3 separate regions of the Homo sapiens genome follow, and regions 1 and 2 are each linked to region 3. The links are contacts of gene promoters, found by promoter capture Hi-C in human tissues and cell types (Jung and others, 2019). All regions are on one chromosome and are shown on one strand. The core of a region is centred on a gene start or on the middle of the fragment in contact, and the rest is flanking DNA. Distances in the headings are between cores, read along the strand shown.

The links. The method cuts DNA at HindIII sites, captures the fragments that hold promoters and counts their contacts. A contact is called where the count stands out against the background at its distance.
Region 1: a contact is called between the fragment with the promoter of SPPL3 here and the fragment with the promoter of SIRT4 in region 3, in 2 of the 25 tissues and cell types used here (hippocampus and psoas muscle).
Region 2: a contact is called between a fragment that was not itself captured here and the fragment with the promoter of SIRT4 in region 3, in 1 of the 25 tissues and cell types used here (hippocampus).

What each region holds. Positions count from the first base shown.
Region 1 is chr12:120,902,993-120,905,692 of GRCh38, reverse strand. It overlaps SPPL3 (signal peptide peptidase like 3), which reads left to right and starts at 1,335. Exons shown (of 11, transcript NM_139015.5): 1 at 1,335-1,848. The coding sequence starts at 1,826. It overlaps XLOC_009911 (a long non-coding RNA gene), which reads right to left and starts at 998. Exons shown (of 2, transcript NR_131215.1): 1 at 921-998. RefSeq lists silencers at 1,136-1,495, 1,576-1,795, 1,936-1,985. The HindIII fragment of the contact is 15,749 bases long and covers 1-2,700 here.
Region 2 is chr12:120,846,799-120,849,498 of GRCh38, reverse strand. All of the region lies in intron 1 of SPPL3 (signal peptide peptidase like 3), which reads left to right. Among named protein-coding and RNA genes, the nearest start is that of SPPL3, 56 kb to the left of the region's middle. The HindIII fragment of the contact is 3,937 bases long and covers 1-2,700 here.
Region 3 is chr12:120,300,902-120,303,601 of GRCh38, reverse strand. SIRT4 (sirtuin 4) reads right to left here and starts at 1,281. Exons shown (of 4, transcript NM_012240.3): 1 at 1,224-1,281; 2 at 1-41. The coding sequence starts at 40. The HindIII fragment of the contact is 7,036 bases long and covers 1-2,315 here.

The sequences.
Region 1 (2,700 bases), core at 86-2,585, 600 kb before region 3:
TTTTCTTTTTCTTTTTTTTTTTTTGAGACAGAGTCTCGCTGTTGCCCAGGCTGGAGTGCAGTGGCGCAATCTCGGCTCACTGCAAGCTCTGCCTCCGGGGTTCACGCCATTCTCCTGCCTCAACCTCCTGAGTAGCTGGGATTACAGGCGTCCACCACCACGCCCGGCTAATTTTTTGTATTTTTAGTAGAGACAGGGTTTCACCGTGTTAACCAGGATGGTCCCGATCTCCTGACCTCATGATCCACCCACCTCGGCCTCCCAAAGTGCTGGGACTACAGGCGTGAGCCACCGCGCCCGGCCAAAAGAATGACTTTTCTTTGATAAGCCTCTCACCCTTTCAGACGGCCTCATCCACTCCTGGGGAAGCATTCCGCAGTACCTGGGGCCTCAATTAATCTCTCTCTTCTCTCTCCATCTAAGCTCCAGATTCACTTTGTTGGTCTCTGGTCTAGCTCTACCGTGTTTATTTCTGTGCCGGTTTCCAGACCTCCAAATGGACGGTTTCCTGAGCCTTCTGCCCTTGCTGTTCCCTCTGCCAGGAACTCTTTTCCTGTGGATCTTTGCAAGGCCAGCTCTCTGTCATCATTCAATATCAGCTCAAATGTCACCTCCTAAGCGAGGCCTTCCTTGACCACCCTATCTAAAGTAACCCACACCTCTGCTCACTCTCTGTCCCCTCACCTTGTGTTACAAAATGTGTTTTTGTAAAACTTAGCAGCATCTGAAATTATCTTATTTGTGGGCTTGGACTATGTCTCTTCCTTTAGAATGTAAGCTCTAGGAAGGCAGAGTGAGTTGACACATGGTTGGCACCCAACAAATATCTGTTGATTGATTCTGTGAAGGCAAGCGTGGGGTATTCGACTTGGTGCCGGGCCTGGGCGCAATAAAGGTTGGCTGCCTGGAATATTTGCTACCTGAATGAATGAACCAAGGAACATACGAACGAAGGAATGCAGCCCTCTGCCTGTTGACTGACAGGTTGACTGACAGTTGGGGGGCCCGTGGCCAGCAGACTGTTGACTGACGGTTGACAGCTGAGTGGCAGCCAACAGACGCGCATCGGGGTTCCCGATTGGCTGGTGCAGCAGCCCCTCGGAGAGGGGCGGAAGAGGGTACCCGAGGCGACATCTCCGCGTGGGGAGGGGGGCGGCACCAGGCAGCGGGAGGCGGCCCAACTGCTCTGGCTGTGCGAGCAGCAGCCGCCTAGAACCCAGGAGCCGACGTCTCTGCGCATGGGCCCGGCTCGAGGGGCGGGGCGCGCATCACGTGAGCGTGTTTTGGGCACGTGACCCGCGCGGGGCCAAGGCTCGCCCCCGCCCCCGCCCCTCCTCCCCTCGGCGGGTGTGATCGAGTGGCCTCGCCTCATCGCCTAGCGCCCCCCTCAGTCGCCGCCGCCTCCGCCCGCCGGCCATGTCCCCCGGCCGCCGCCGCCGCCGCCCGAGCGCGGCGCTCCCGCGGCCCCGCGCGCAGTGAGCGCGGGCCCGTCTTGCCGTTCGCCCGCCCCAGGGCCCCCTTGTTCTCCGCGCCGCCGCCGCCGCCATGTTGGGTTTGGAGCTGCAGCGGAGCCGCCGCCGCCGCCGCGGGTGAGGGAGGCCGAGAGCGGAGCCCGCCCCGCCCCGGGGCCCAGGGAGCGGGGCCGCTTCGGAGCCCGGCCTCTCCCCGCCAGCCGCCTTCCCGGCCCGCCGTGCAGCCAGCGAGCCAGCGAGCGAGCAAGCAAGCAAGCACCGGACCCCGGCCGCGCCTTCAGCTACGGCCCGAGCGAGCCCGCCGCCGCCGGGCCCGGCCACAGCCTGCAGCGGAGCCCACGAGAGGCAGCGCCATGGCGGAGCAGACCTACTCGTGGTGAGTGCGGGGCTCCGGGAGGCCGGGAGGCGGCAAGGGTGGGGGTCGGGGCGCCGGCGCGGCCCGCCGAGGGGAAGAGGAGGAAGAACAGGTGCGTGTCGTGGGGGGGGGGCGCGGGTTGGGGTGCACGCCCCCCTCTTCCCCACCGGAGGGGGCGGCTGGCGCGCACGGAGGGCGGTGAGTGGCCGGGGACCTGGCGTCCGAGAAGGGGAATGGAGGAGGAGGCAGCGGCGGATGTCATCTGGCTATGGGCGGAGCAGGTGATGGAGAAGGGGAGCATGACCCCGGGGGTGGGAATCCCACGGATGGGAAGTTGAATCCGACAGGCACCCCGGAACTGACTCGTGGGGGTGTTTCCTGGGCAGGAGGACTCGAAGGGGTGGAGAGAGGCAGGCCAGGGCAAAGGTGGGCCGCTGGGCTGAGAGGAAGCTCTAGTGAGAACAGGTGATAGAGGCAGAACTTCTAAGTTGGGAGAGTGGAGCGGCCGCCGCTTGGCTCTGGGACAGGGAGCGCAGGGAGAGTTGGTGAGGTGGGCAGAGGCCCGGGAGTGAGGGGAGGAAAACTGCGGGGGTAGAGTCCACGAACCTTGGAGGGGAGTCACTGGTGAAGAGGTTGGAAGAGGAGCCTGAAGAACCTGTTTCCTTTTCCTTCTGGAAAAGGAATTCGTTGGTGACAGTGGGGCATGGGCAGAGTCTTTGTAAGGGTTGGTACTATTATTTTCAGAGGAATGGCGCCCAGGGCCAAGTGTGGAGGTGGAGGACCTGCAAGTTAAGTTCATTTCTGTGGGGCTTTTAAAGTTAGTAAGTAGCTCGTTAAGGGCCGAGAAGCGAGAAGCTACTGTGTAGTTTATGG
Region 2 (2,700 bases), core at 30-2,529, 550 kb before region 3:
GCTATATCTTGGTAACCTTAGGCCATTGCTAGTATAGATAGATCATCCTGTTTCACTTGCCTCTGTGGTGGCTCATTAATCTATTCGTATCTACTTAAACAATAGAATGTCTTCAGAAATTGTGTTGCCAGTTGGCTACAACTTTGTAGAAGTTGGTATTGATTACCTGAAATTATTTTTTACCTTTAGAGTACTGATTTAGATGCTTGTTAGAGTTGAGCCCATCTCTAATAACTTTGTTAGAGGGAAAGAGAGTATCAGGTAAAGTTTAGGTTTAGTTTTACTTTTTATTATTATTGTTTTCTTTTGTTTTTTGTTTTCTTCCTCTGGTTTTAGAGGGAGGATCTCTGTTGCTCAGGCTGGAATGCAGGGGCGTTGATTATAGCTCACTGCAGCCTTAAATTCCTGGGCTCACGCAATCCTCCCATCTCAGCCTCCATGAGCATGTCTAAGAATATAGACATGTGCCACCATGCCCAGCTAATTTTTAAATTTTTTGTAGAGATGGATATTTACATAGTAATCAAGTTTGTATTACATCCTGGGCCTTGAAAGATGGCCAAAAAAAAAACCAAAATTGAGTGTTACACAAATCACCTGTAGCTTGCTCATTGATCATTAGTGTTATTACACTAAAGTGATAAAAAGTAATTTATGCACAAATTTTTAAGGCATTTTTGTCCTTACTATTTTCTTACACATTAGGTATAATGAGCTATGGTAAAAGAGCAGTAATTTAAAGCATCTGTGAGAAATCTAACCTTTCCTTTTGTAACCTTTTGGATTTAATTGTGATTTTTGAGAAATGGAACAATCAGTAGTAGTTATGAAAATTGTCAATTTGGCTTATGTTAAATATATAGATTAATTTATAAGTCCATCGAAAATATGCAGATGACTAAAATAATACAGCAATTCTAAAATAATACTTGTTAGATAGACTAGCACTTTCTGGGGTGTGGCGGGGGCAAGTAAGTTAAAGTAAATCCTTGCCATTCTGTTAATGATACCACTATTCTCAGTCATTAGATTGGACAAGAAATAGCAGTTTTGGTATTCCACCCTTCTTGGGCTCCCTGCCATGTTCAAGCACTTTAACTTGAGGTCTTAATTCTGTGATTGTGAGAATAACTCTAGACCCATGGTGTCCCTGTAGTCCTCAGTGCGATCTTATGGCTGTGGTTTGGCCTTTCTTCTGACTCCTTGAGATATATCCTGATCCTGTACATTAGAAAGTGGCTGTTGGAGAACAACACTGCAAATACAACTTTGCTTATAGTTGTATTTAGTTGCTTATAGAGCAACCTTGAGATTCTGTCAGGGCAGTGCTAGTGAATTTCCTCTCCCTTTAATAGATTCGGCTGCTGAGTTCATCAGAAGCTGGTAAGTAGTGCAGGTCAGAATCTGCTCTTACTTGTGCACATGCACCACCACCACCTTATCTCACACCAGTGTGATGAACAAGACTAGATTTTGTTTTAAGTTTTACATAATGCCTTACTTCCCTTTTTCTGTCACCAGACATTCAGCCACTTATAAAAATCACTCTCTCCCCAAACTTGTGATTATCTCCTTTCTCTCGGTAGTTAAAATGAGCACGGTTCAGATTCAATGTGGCATTTTGAAAGCCAGGGGACACACCCAGGGTGATTATGGTACTCAGGTACAGGAGAACAGAAAGACAGTTCTCTGCTATGGAATATTAATTATAAATATTAGCTCCCTTTTTACTAGATTCAAAGGCAGTTCAGTGGTTACTTTAAACCAAGGCCAGGTGTGGTGGCTCACACCTGTAATCCTAGCACTTTCGGAAGCCAAGGTGGGAGGGTCACTTGAGCTCAGGAGTTTCAAACCGTCCTGGGCAAGAGAGTGAGACCTGCCTCTACTTAAAAAAATAAAAAATAAGGCCAGACTTGGTGACTCACGCCTGTAATCCCAGCACCTCGGGAGGCCAAGGCAGGCAGATTGCTTTGAGCTCAGGAGTTCTAGACCAGCCTGGGCAACATGTTGAAACCTTGTCTCTACAAAGGATACAAAAATTAGCCAGGTGTGGTGGCACACACCTGTGGTCCCAGCTACTTGGGAGGCTGAGGCTGGAGAATTGCTTGAACCCAGGAGGCAGAGGTTGCAGTAAGCCAAGATCACACCACTGCACTCCAGCCTGGGTGACAGAGTGAGACCCTGTCTTAAAAAATAAATAAATAAATAAATAAAAATAAACTGAATTCATGTTTCCACCTTCCCCAAAGAGACGCTAAATTCTTCTTTTTCCCTCTCTAATTAGTGTTGAAATTGATGTTACATCTCCCTTTCTTCTGGTTTATTTTGTTTGAATTTATTTTTTCTCTTTTCCTTACGTTTGGTTTTATGCATAATGAAGTTTGAGGCTATTGGTGCAGGTATTCAGTAACATAAAACTTCATTTATCTGGGTTTATAAGTCAGAATCCTATTTCACTTCTCCCTGAGCCTGAGGGGAAATCTTAGAAAAGTCTATTGAGATTTAGTTATAATAAACATACTACTTAATTACTGCACAAGCTTAACCACAGAGTTTGCTGTCACAATATAAACACCCAGATGAGGGCCTGAAAGAAACCTCCACACTCCCACCCACATGAACTCTGTTGGGTGTTTTCTTCCTGCCCTCTATCTGGCAAACAAAAATATGGAATCTGTTCCAAGAATTTCTGTGAAACCA
Region 3 (2,700 bases), core at 32-2,531:
CTTTTGCTGACCTGAAAGTCAACGCAAAGCTCATCTTCATTCTAGAGAAAAAGAAGCCTCATGTGAGAAACTGGGGTGGTTTTTTTTTTTTCTCATTTTTTGTTTGTTTGTTTTCGTTTTGTTTTTTGAGACAGAGTCTCCCTCTGTTGCCCAGGCTAGAGTACAGTGGCATGATCTTGGCTCACTGTAACCGCCGCCTCCCGGGTTCAAGTGATTCTCCTGCCTCAGCCTCCAGAATAGCTGGGACTACATGGCCACCATGCCCGGCTAATTATTGTATTTTTAGTAGAGGCAGGGTTTCACCATGTTGGCCAGGCTAGTCTCGAACTCCTGAGCTCTAGTGATCTGCCCGCCTCGGCCTCCCAACGTGCTGGAATTACAGGTGTGAGCCTCTGAGTCTGGCCCTAATGAGTCAGGTTTTGTTTGATTTTGTTCATGTAATTAAGCACACACACGCATTCCTTTTATTTTTTCATTTCCCCCTTATTTTAGTTTACCCTCCACTGCAAGCTCTGCTACTTGGACACATCAGAGAGACAAGACCCCTGCCCGTCAGCTTTTCTAGCTGTAACAATAGAGGGCCGGGTGCGGTGGCTCACGTCTGAAATCCCAGCACTTTGGGAGGCCGACGCAGGCAGATCACTTGAGATCAGGAGTTCGAGACATGCCTGGCCAACATGGTGAAACCCCGACTCTACTAAAAATACAAAAAAAATTAGCCGGGCATTGTGGCACGTGCCCGTAATCCCAGCTACTAGGGAGGCTGAGGCAGGAGAATTGCTTGAACCCGGGAGGCGGAGGTTGCAGTGAGCCGAGATCGCGCCGTTGCACTCCAGCCTGGGCGAAGAAGCAAGACTCCGTATCAAAAAAAAAAAAAAAAAGAAAAAGAAAAAACTTTGACATATTATTTGACACAATGCAATGCATAAATCCTCTAGTGACATGCACCCCGTATGTAAACATTATTTTATGTTTGGCTTTCCAGATCTGAGATCAGGACCCCGCTTTCTCCTTGACATTCCACAGCAAAACGTGAACAGCTGAACAAACACACAGTCCGGTTTCCCGAGACCAAAGGGTCAGGGGAAACCCCCGCTGAAAACGTGCATCAGTGGAACAACTACTCTCTTCCAGGTCCCACCGAGGGCAAAGAGGAGAAATAGAATCCCTCACAAGAAATCCACAACTTCTAGAAATCCGCAGCACACACAGAACACACTTACCTCTCACAGCTCTACGGACACTTCACACCCCACAGTGGGACCGTCTGATTGCATTTGCATTTTGGGACATGTAGTCCAGAAAGCTTAAATGATGCGAGAAAAACCACAAGTCCCACAATCCTCCGCGTCTCGCAATTGACAGCCCCAGATCATCCAGGAACGCCCCCTGTCGGCTCTTTCTGGTCAGAGGTTCCCCCGTTAATATAAAAGCTTTTAATCATGGATTTTTTTCTTTGTTTTCAATTTCTGTGGGCACTTAGTAGGTGTATATATTTATAGTGTACATAAGATTTTTTTTCTTTTTTCTTTTTTTTTTTTAAGACGGAGTTGTTGTTTTTTTTTTTTGAAAAAACTCCAGTCTGGAGTGCAGTGGCACGATCTCGGCTCACTGCAACCTCCCTCTCCCGGGTTCAACCGATTCTCCTGCCTCAGCCTCCCGAGTAGCTGGGATTATTTTTGTATTTTTAGTAGAGACGGGGGTTTCGCCATGTTGGCCAGGCTCGTCTTGAACTCCTAACCTCAGGTGATCCGCACGCCTTGACCTCCCAAAGTGCTGGGATTATAGGCGTGAGCCACTGCGCCCGGCCATCTTTTCTCTTATTTTTTGTCTTTTTTTCTTTTCTCTGTGCCTGTCTATGCTTTACCCACATGAGATGTTTTGATACAAACATGCAATGTGAAATGAGCACGTCATTAATCATGGATCTAGATTTGACTTTTTTTTAAAGTTTTTGTATTTTTAGTAGAGACAGAGTTTCACCATGTTGGCCAGGCTGGTCTCGAACTCCCGACCTCAGGTGATCCGCCAACCTCGGCCCCCCAAAATGCTGGGATTACAGGCCTGAGCCACTGTTCCCGGCCTAGATTTGACTCATTCTAAACATCAGAGTTTGTGATCCTTTTCATTCACAACGACAGTATCAAGTTATTTGCTATTGGTAAAATACCTTGAACTTGTGAAGAAATGTGTTTATACATATCTGAAAAAGTGATAGTTTGTTGTTGTTGTTGTTGTTGTTTGTTTGTTTGTTTTTGAGACGGAGTCTCGCTCTGTTGCCCAGGCTGGAGTGCAATGGTGCCATTTCGGCTCACTGCAACCTCCGCCTCCCGGGTTCAAGCAATTCTCCTGCCTCAGCCTCCTGAGTAGCAGGGATTATGGGCGCATGCCACTACGCCCGGTTAATTTTTTTATTTTTAGTAGAGACAAGGTTTCACCATGTTAGCCAGGATGGTCTTGATCTCCTGACCTCGTGATCTGCCCACCCTAGCCTCCCAAAGTACTGGGATTACAGGCGTAAGCCACTGTGCCCAGCCAAAAGTGATGTTTTTACAGTTAATATGAAGCCAAATATATTATACCTGGACTAATGTACTTAACCTGCTTGGCTTCTCCAATTTTATTTATCATATTTTTTTTATTAAGTTAATCAAACAAGGCCTGCGTCTCACTCCCAGGGATTCTGATCTACAAATTTCC